Linked DNA regions of Homo sapiens: region 2 is linked to region 1. The links are contacts of gene promoters, found by promoter capture Hi-C in human tissues and cell types (Jung and others, 2019). All regions are on one chromosome and are shown on one strand. The core of a region is centred on a gene start or on the middle of the fragment in contact, and the rest is flanking DNA. Distances in the headings are between cores, read along the strand shown.

Evidence for each region. Contacts are between HindIII fragments. The study calls those that stand out against the background at their distance.
Region 2: a fragment that was not itself captured here is called in contact with the fragment with the promoter of UBIAD1 in region 1 in 1 of the 25 tissues and cell types used here (psoas muscle).

The regions. Positions count from the first base shown.
Region 1 is chr1:11,271,270-11,276,251 of GRCh38, reverse strand. It overlaps UBIAD1 (UbiA prenyltransferase domain containing 1), which reads right to left and starts at 3,054. Exons shown (of 2, transcript NM_013319.3): 1 at 2,192-3,054. The coding sequence starts at 2,720. RefSeq lists enhancers at 2,786-2,835, 2,926-3,095 and silencers at 3,096-3,145, 3,206-3,475. The HindIII fragment of the contact is 12,769 bases long and covers 1-4,982 here.
Region 2 is chr1:10,490,085-10,494,914 of GRCh38, reverse strand. All of the region lies in intron 1 of PEX14 (peroxisomal biogenesis factor 14), which reads right to left. Among named protein-coding and RNA genes, the nearest start is that of PEX14, 18 kb to the right of the region's middle. RefSeq lists a silencer at 1-243. The HindIII fragment of the contact is 3,285 bases long and covers 1,857-4,830 here.

The DNA.
Region 1 (4,982 bases), core at 1,805-4,304:
AAAGCATATTTAGAATCTGGCTACTTACCTCTTCCACTACCACCCGCTAGATACAAGCCACCAAACATCGCTTGCCTGGATTATTCAAGAGCTTCCTACTTGGTCTTCCTGCCTCTACCCTTGCCCCACTCCCCTTGATCCATTCTCAATACCTTACCCAGAGCAATTCTTTTAAAACATTATATTACATCACTCCCTTGCTCAAAGTCCTGCAGTGGCTCCTCCATTCCAGAGCCAAGACCAGTGGCCTACAAGGTCTATATAATCCGTGTGTGTGCCTCCTTACCCTCCCCAAACGTACTTCTCTTACTTTACCTCTCTTTACTCTCTCCTTCATTCACACACTGGACTTCTTGCTGCTCTGTAAGCTCTTTGGACACATTCCTGCCTGAAGGCCTATGGCACTTGCTGTTGCTTTTCCTGAAATGCTCCTCTCTCAGATATCTGCTTGGCCAACTCCCTCACCTCTTACCTCCTTCAATGTAACTCAACTCAAATACTACCTTTCTGAGGCATGGTCTCACTCTGTCGCCCAGGCTGGAGTGCAGTGGTGTGATCAGGACTCACTGCAGCCTTGACCCCTGGGCTCAAGCAATTCTCCCGCCTCAGCCTCCAAAGTAGCTGGGACCACAGGCAAGCACCACCATGCCCAGCTAATATTTTTTATTTTATATTTTATACAGACAGGGGTCTATGTTGCCCAGGCTGGTGTTTAACTCCTGGCCTCAAGCGATCCTCTCGCTTCAGCCTCCCAAAGGGCTGGGATTACAGACATGAGCCACTGCACTCAGCCAAATGTTACCTTTTTGATGAAGCCTACCCTGATCAAACTACTTAAAATAGTAATCTGTGTCCCATTCTTTGCTCTACTTTTTTTTCCCATAGCACTTATCATCTTTCATATACTATAATCAGGGTGATCAATTCAACCTGACTTACCAGGAACTTTTCTGGTTTTAGCTCCAGAAGTCGCACATCCGACTTAGTCCTGTCACCTTAGTCCTGAGCAAACCAGGATATTGGTCACCCTAACTATAATTTTCTATTTTTACTTTCTGTCTCTTTTCATGATAATACGTAAGTTTCACAAGGGCAGGGATCTGTGACTGCTGTGTTCACACAGAACAGTGCCTGGCACATAATAGGTGCTCAATAAATAGGGCTTACCCACCTGCCCATCACTACCTTAATCAGCCTCTTGCAAGAAGTCACCTAGCAAACTAGCTAGAAGTAATTATCTATATCATTTTGAACTCTTCAGATTTAATTCTAATATTTGAAACTGTGGCATTATAAAGTATGAGTGATTAAAAAAAAAAATGAGACAGAAAAAATGTCCATATAGGCCGGGCATGGTGGCTCACGCCTGTAATCCCAGCACTTTGGGAGGGCAAGACAGGCAGGTCATGAGGTCAGGAGTTCAAGACCAGCCTGGCCAACATGGTGAAACCTTGTCTCTACTAAAAATACAAAAATTAGCCAGGCGTGGTGGCACATGCCTGTAGTCCCAGCTACTCGGGGAGCTGAGGCAGAAGAATCGCTTGAAGCCGGGAGACAGAGGTTGCAGTAAGCCGAGATGGTGCCACTGCACCCTTGCCTGGGCAACAGAGCGAGACTCTGTCTCAAAAAAAATAAAAAAAATTAAAAAATGTCCTGACAGGGCGCGGTGGCTCACGCCTGTAATCTTAGAACTTTGGGAGGCTGAGGCGGGTGGATCACGAGGTCAGGAAATCGAGACCATCCTGGCCAACATGGTGACACCCCGTCTCTAATAAAAATACAAAAATCAGCCAGGCGTGGTGGCGTGCACCTGTAGTCCCAGCTACTCGGGAGGCTGAGGCAGGAGAATCGCTTGAACACGGGAGGCAGAGGCTGCAGTGGGCCGAGATCGCACCACTGCACTCCAGCCTGGGCGACAGAGCGAGACTCCGTCTCAAAAATGAATACATAAAAAATAAATAAAAATAAATGTCCATATAAAATTTTCAGTCATGCCCTACGTCCGTAAGTCAAACCAGGATCTTCTCAAATCACTGTTTCAAAAAATTCACATCACCCACAATTATAGACTTCAATTAAAGCGGCTTAAATTAGAAAGCCACCTTTGACATCCCTATAACTCCTTTACAAAGCAGCGGTTTCCAGTGGACGCGACTAAGACCTGCAGCACACAGGACAGGCCAAATCTTACCTCCTGTGTAGAGAAAGGAGCCAGACAGGCCTCCAAAGTAGATAAGAGCCAAGTGCTCCAGTTTCAGAGGGGACAGGTAGTAGAGGCAAGCGGCACAGACGCAGCCCAACGTGTAGAGGAAGACTCCGAACCGGACGACATCCTGCGGCTCCAAGATTCGGTCCACAAGTGTCCTGTCATCACTCTTTTTGTGGTCAATGCCCTTGGAAAAGTCATAGTAAGTGTTGACCAAATTACCGGCCCCGTGCACAGCCAGGACAGCCACGGCACAACCCACCAAGAGCCTGGGATCCAGGACACCGTGGGATCTGTAGGCAAGGGCACTGCCCAGGGCCACCGGTGTGAGTGAGGCACTGAAGCTCCAGGGCCTCAGGGCCAACACGTAGGAGGCACACTTCTGCCTCCAGGAGCGCTGGGGGAGCCTATCTTGCTCGGGACAGTCGTTCCCCAGCGGGTCCCTGTCCCCAGCTTTGACAGTCTCTCCCGACAGGATGTTAATCTTCTCCCCCAGGACCTGAGAGGCCGCCATGGAAGCTCCACGTGGTTGAAGTAAACTCTAAAAGTGAGCCACGCACAGTGACCGCCCGGGAAGGAGGAAGGACGGGGCGGGGCAGCAGGGCCCGACCTTCCTTCGGTTCCGCCCCAGGACAGGGCTGGTGTGGCGGCAAGGTCCGGGGGCAACAGCAAGTGGGTCTTACACCCCACGAGGCCAAGCGGCGCCGCCCCTACTACCCGTCACCTGGGCGAAGTCTGTCTCCGGCCCCCAGCCCCGCGTTAGAGCCCACGGCTGAGCCGCGGCCGCCTTCTTTAGGCCGCCAGAGCCGCCATCTTGTGCGCCGGCCTCTGGAGGCCCGCCCGGAAACAGGTGCCGGCGGCGCGGGCTGGACCGGAGGGTGGGCTGGAGGGCGGGAGGGGGCGGGGCCGAGCCAGAGGCGGGGAGAAGGGCGGTGAGGGGTGGGGGGCGGGGGCCTGGTCAGAGGCGGGGCGGGCAGGGCCGAGTCAGAGGAGGGGCGGGGTCAGAGGCGGGGAGAAGGGCGGTGAGGGGTGGGGCGGGGCTGAGGGGCGGGGCCAGACCGGTGGTGGGGCGGGAGGGGGCGGGGCCGGGGCGGGAATGGACCGGGAGCGGGGACGGGCCAGGAGCTGGGGCCGGGCGGTGACCCGGCATCCAGCCCTTTTCCTGCCTGCACTGCGCCCCGCAGCTACTTCCAGACTAACTGCAATCAGCCTCTCTTAGCATCATAAGAACTCGAAGGCGTGTTGCTTTAGGACTTACCGGGCGCACTTTCATTCACGAAGTAGGATTCATTAATTTATTCATGCTACAAGCATTTATTGAGCGCCTGCTGTGTGCATACATTCTGACGTCTATCATATCTGCACCGTGGAAATACTCTATGATGTGCTACTGCTCACCTCTTATCAGCTTTTCATTCAGTGACATCCTTCAGCAGCTTGAAATCTGCCCATGGTGGGAGAATTTACACCACGCAAATCAGCAAATGCTTAATAACTGCTAAGTCGTCTAGACTTAAGAAAGTGGCGGAGAAAATGTTCATATTACTGGTTAAACTTAAAAGTGTTGGAGGGTGCGGTGGCTCACGCCTGTAATCCCAGCACTTTGGAAGGCCGAGGCAGGCGGATCACTTGATGTCAGGAGTTCGACATCAGCCTGGCCAACATAGCGAAACCCTGTCTCTACTAAAAATACAAAAATTAGCCGTGCGTGGTGGCAGGCACCTGTAATCCCAGCTACTCGGGAGGCTGGGGCAGGAGAATTGCTTGAACCCGGGAGATGGAGGTTGCAGTGAGCCAAGATCATGCCAATGGGCTCCAGCCTGGGCAACAGAGTGAGACTCCATCTCAAAAAAAAAAAAAAAATTAGCCGGGGGTGGTGGTGCATTCCTGTAATCACAGCTACTCGGGAGGCTGAGGCAGGAGAATTGCTTGAACCCTGGAGGCAGAGGCTGCAGTGAGCCAAGATCACGCCACTGCACTCCAGCCTGGGCAGTAGAGCGAGACTCCGTCTCAAAAAAGAAAAAAAAGAGAGAAAAAAAGTGTGTAAGTGAATGCACCAAAACTTTGAGGAAATATTCGTTCAGCATTGGCAAATTATTATCCAGTTGAACAAATAAGTCGCTTGTAGCCTTGACAAACTAGTGAAGTTCTGACATATCTCTTTTGATTGTTTCACTTTCCTCTTACTCCTAACATAAAATATCAACCAACATTCATGTCTGAACTATGCTCATTGATCAATTGGGACCATAGGGAAGCTACACAACATCAAAGAAAGCATACTGTGAGAACTGGCTATATGGAGTTTACAATAGAGTCCTGTACTGTATATTTTAGTATTTGTAAACTGTATGCTACACATCATTTACATCAGTGAAATTATAATACACATGCAACATAGATGCACACAGGACTGACTACATAATTTGTGGTACCCAGTGCAAACTAAAGAGGTGGAGCTGGGGGTGATAATGTGTGCCTGTAGTCCCAGCTACTCAGGAGGTTTTTTTGAGACGGAGTCTTGCTCTGTTGCCCAGGCTGGGGTGCAGTGACACAATCTCGGCTCACTGCAAGCTCCGCCTCCAGGGTTCACACCATTCTCCTGCCTCAGCCTCCCGAGTAGCTGTGACTACAGGCGCCCGCCACCACGCCCGGCTAATTATTTTGTATTTTTAGTAGAGACAAGGTTTTACCGTGTCAGCCAGGATGGTCTCTATCTCCTGACCTCGTGATCCGCCTGCCTCAGCCTCCCAAAGTACTGGGATTACAGGTGTGA
Region 2 (4,830 bases), core at 2,250-4,749, 780 kb after region 1:
AACACCTCCTCTTTCTGCCACCTCCCCAACGTCAGGGGACTGGGAAGAAAAGTCGCGCAGCAGTGGAGAACCAGATTCCACCACCAGGGGGCCCCAGCTGCCCACGCTCAGGATTTTCTCTGGGCATCTAGTTTCTGGAGCCCAGAAGCCAGTAAACTACACAGGTTCCTATTCATCACCTGCCACTAAGGACACCACCCCACAATAGTAAAGAAAGCCCCAGGCTTAAATCCTTCTTGGAAATAAGCTAGTGACAGGCTGGCATATAAGCAGACCAACCTCCAGGCGAGCAGGCAGCACTGTGGCCGAGGCCCTGGCTCTAGCCCGTTTCCTCTTCCTTGGGGCCACTACCTCACCCTCACAGGCGCCTTCGACCCTTGACTGATCTGGCCAAAATTTAGAGAAAGGGAGAGGCAGAGGTAGAGACAGATTCTGAAGAAATTTACAAATCTCCAAAAGAATAAAGTAAGCAGGTATGCTGCTAAGTGAGCTATGATTAGTTTACTGTGACTGATGGTCAGGCCAATTGCCATCTATCTACAGTTAATATCCAGACAAGTGCAGCAAAATCTGTGTGTCCCAGGAGACAGCCTGCAGCCTCCATTCTCCCGGCTATTACAGATCAGATGGAAGTGCCAGGCCGCCTTGGAAAAGGACAGAGGCCCGGTCTGCAGAGGGTTCCCAAAAATTCCTCATGCCCAGCTACTACCACATTAGCTGGCACACAGCACAGTGGCAAGCACTCTGCTGGGTGAAGGCCTCTATCCCTCCATCCGAAGTCCTGTCCCAAGAGCCTCACCACCCCAGGACAAGAGGTCAGCCAGCAGGAAACGATCTAGAAAGTGAGGGTCCGTCTCAGGGAATGTGAGCAAGCTTCCCCTGCCTCCCTGCCTCCTGTCCTCCCAAAGCTCCAGGCATTGGTAACTTCAAACCTTTAGAGCTCCAGCCCACACCCCTCTGAGATACACATCCGACTGCCTTCCTGCCTCTTCTTGGAGTTAAGCTGCCCTGGAGCAGACTCACAGTCCTCTCTGACACATATGTCTTCTTCCAGCATTCCCTCTTGGCATGAATGGGACAAACTTCACCAAATGATGTAAACTAGAATCCAAAAGGCCATCTTGAGACAGCTCTTTCTCCCTCGCTCCCAGAGCTAACTCATTACATCAAGTCTGCCATACTCCTTCCTCAATATCCATGGAAGAGTGGTGTAAATGCCAGCACTTTGGGAGGCCCAGGAGGATGGATTGCTTGAGCCCAGGAGTTTGAAACCAGCCTGGGCAACATGGCAAATCCTCGTCTCTACAAAAAATATAAAAATGGGCCAGGTGTGGTGGTGTGCGCTTGTACTCCCAGCTATTTGGGAAGCTGGGGCAGAAGGATCCCTTGAGCCTGTAAATTCAAGGCTGCAGTACACCATGATCACACCACTGCACTCCAGCCCAGGTGACAGAGCCAGACCCTGTCTCAAAAAAAATTAAAAAGTCCATGGAAACAATCCATCCGTTTTTCTCCATCTCTACTGCCATCACTTCAGTCCAAGCTACCAAAATCCCCTGCCTGGACCACTGCGTCAGCTTTCTCATCAGTGCTGGCGCTCTTCCAATTCATATTCTGGGATGCAAACAGACTATCATTTCCAAAGGAGAATCTGCTCGTCCCATCCCTTGTCCACCCACTCACCCCAGTAAACACAACAAATTTAAGGGCTTCTCCTTGCTCTTAGAAGACAGAAAAACCTCAGCGTGGCCTACAAGGCCTCACGTCTACTCTGACTACACCTCAGGTCTCAAGCGGCACCACATTGCCCACTTCTGCCCCCTGACAGACGCACTGGCCTTTGCTTTCTCTGTCACTGCGCCTTTGCACATGCCCTTCCTTCCCTTTAGTTCATCCTTCAGATCCAGCTAAGACACTTCCTCAGGGAAGCATTCCTTCTCTGACATCCATGACTAGGTCAGATCTCCCTGTGACACATTCAGGTAACACCACCTGCCTCTCCTTCAAGGACCTGAGCAGATGTGCAACTTTACATCTGTGTGACTATCGGACTGATGCCTGTCTCTCTCACCAGATTATAAACTCCACGTGTGCAGAAACTGCCTGTGTTTGCTTATCACTGTATCCCTGGGGGCTAGGACAGTGCCAGGCACAGAGGAGGCCTTCAATAGAAATTTGCTGAATGAATGAATGGGCAACAAAAAAACAGAACAATGGCAACAACTCAGCTGAATGGATTATTTAGATTCTTCCGTTCATTATCTTCCTGAGGGTTTCCTCTACTCCATTTGCTAGATACTAAGTGCTAACATTCACTTAGCTCTTTCCTCCTTTAATTCTCACAATAAGTATATCAAATTACTGCTGATGAGGAAACTGAGGCAAAAGAGGTTAAATAACTTGCCCATGATTACTCAGATAGTAACTGGTACTACAGGGATTTGAACCCTTCTACTTAATCAAAATAAGCAAGTTTTGTTTAAACCACATTTTATTAAGCAACAACCTTAATGCTACCCCATAAATAATAATGTAGGTTATTTGACCAGACAAAACACACAAAAGCAAACAGCTTTAGTATTTAGGAAGCCCCATTCTGACTTAACCCAAAACTTTCTTCCTAAAATAAAACTAATCACTATGAATTGTTTCCACCAAGGAACTGCTCTTAAAATTAGTTCATCCCTTGAATAGCTAGTATTTACCAGAGGGAAAAACTTCAAACAGTACACAGTGCCAAATAAGTCTCTTTCATCATAAACCCTTTAGTACCTTTTAAATTATAAGCCATGTAAATGAATTGTTTTAGAAAATTCAATATTAAAAGTAAAAAAGAAAGCTTCCCTCTCATTCCAACCCTAGGGGACCCACACTGACGCTGGTTCCTTATATATTCTGCCAAGGATATTCAAAGCATATAAGAAGCATGGCCGGCCGGGTGCAGTGGCTCATGCCTGTAATCCCAGCACTTCAGGAGGCCAAGGTGAGCGAATCACTTGAGGCCGGGAGTTAGAGATGAGCCTGGCCAACATGGCGAAACCCCGTCTCTACAAAAAAAATGCAAAAATAAGCTGGGTGTGGTGGTGCATGCCTGTAGTCCCAGCTACTCGGGAGGCAGAGGCACAATAATCGCTTGAACCCGGGAGGCGGAGGTTACAGTGAGCTGAGATCATGCCACTGCACTCCAATCTAGGTGACAGAGTGAGACTCTGTCTCCAAAAAAAAAAAAAAAAAAAAAAAGGAGCATGGCCAAGTGTGGCTTACACCTTAAACCCAGCACAGCACTCTGGGAGGGTACAATGGGAGGATCCCTTAAGGCCAGGAGTTTGAGACCAGCCTGGGCAACACAGCGAGACCCCATCTCTACAAAAAATTTAAAAATTAGCCGGGTGTGGTGGTGCATCCTATAGTCCCAGCTACTCAGGAGGCTCGCTTGATCCCAGGAGGCAGAGATTGCAGTGAGCTATGATGGTGCCATTGTATTCCAGCTTGGTCAACAGAGCAAGACTCTGTCTCAAAAAGAAAAAAAGGGTGCATGTGTATGCATATTCCTACCATGGAATTTGAAACAGCAACACTCCAAATTCCTCAAGTCATGGCTTCCCAGAGCCACAGTCCCAGTATGAAGCTGGGAATACAAATGTGAGCCACCACACCTGGCCTTTTTTTTATTTTTTTAATCATGGCCTACCCTGTGAACATTTTTTTAAAATCTTCCACCATGCTAGCTGTTTAAACAATCGAAGCAGGCCGGGCACAGTAGCTCACGCCTGTAATCCCAGCATTTTGGGAGGTCGAGGCAGGCAGATCACCTGGTCAGGAGTTCAAGACCAGCCTGGCCAACATAGCAAAACCTCATCTCCAACTGATCCTGGAAATCTTCACAGAGTAGTCCATGATTAAAAAAAAAAAAAAAACAAGGCCGGGCATGGTGGTTCACACCAGCACTTTGGGAGGCCGATGTGGGAGGATCGCTTGGGCCCAGGAGTTCGAGACCAGCCTGAGCAACATGGTAAAACCCTGTCTCTACTAAAAAATACAAAAATTTGCCACGCATGGTGGCACATGCCTGTAAGTCCCAACTACCCAGGAGGTTGAAGTGGGAGGATCAACTGAGCCCAGGAGGTTGAGGCTGTGGTGAGCTGTGATCACATCACTGCACTCCAGCCTGGGTAACAGAGTAAGACTGTCTCAGAAAAAAAAAAAAAAAAAAAGGCTTAGAAACCACCCACAGGCATCTATTGTAACGATGTAAGAAAAGGACCTAAGGCAATCCATGCCCAGGATCCTTAGAGGCCTGAATGGGGAGAGCAGGAAGAGAAGAAAGCAAAAGCAGAAAACTGCTTTAAAAAAACAAGTCAGGCAAAGACTACGGCGGCAGAGAGAGAAATGCTTTTCTTTTGGTAGAGACAAAGGTGCTCTCACTCCTGCTGCCAAGGCGCTGACCTTCCCCAACTGGAAGGCGTTCCCAGATCCTGACCTGCTGTCCAACAAAGAACAACCTCACAAGCAGCTCACAGATTTGAGCAACTGGCGAAAGCTCCAGGTCTAGGAGAACCCATCCTGCATCTGCCCAGTAACTGCGACTTCAGATAGGAGAACCCATCCTGCATCTGCCCGGTGACTGTGACTCCAGATAGGTCCTAAGCCAGTCTGTGTAGTTCTCTGCTGGGAAGAATAAGATTCGATCCCACCAATATCCTTTGAGATGCAGTGGCATGACAGAAAGTACACAAGCTTTGGCATTAAGAACTCAGTGATTTGGGGGCACGCTGCTCAACCTCTCTGAGCCTCAGTTTCCTCATCTATGGGAATAACGGGAATAATACC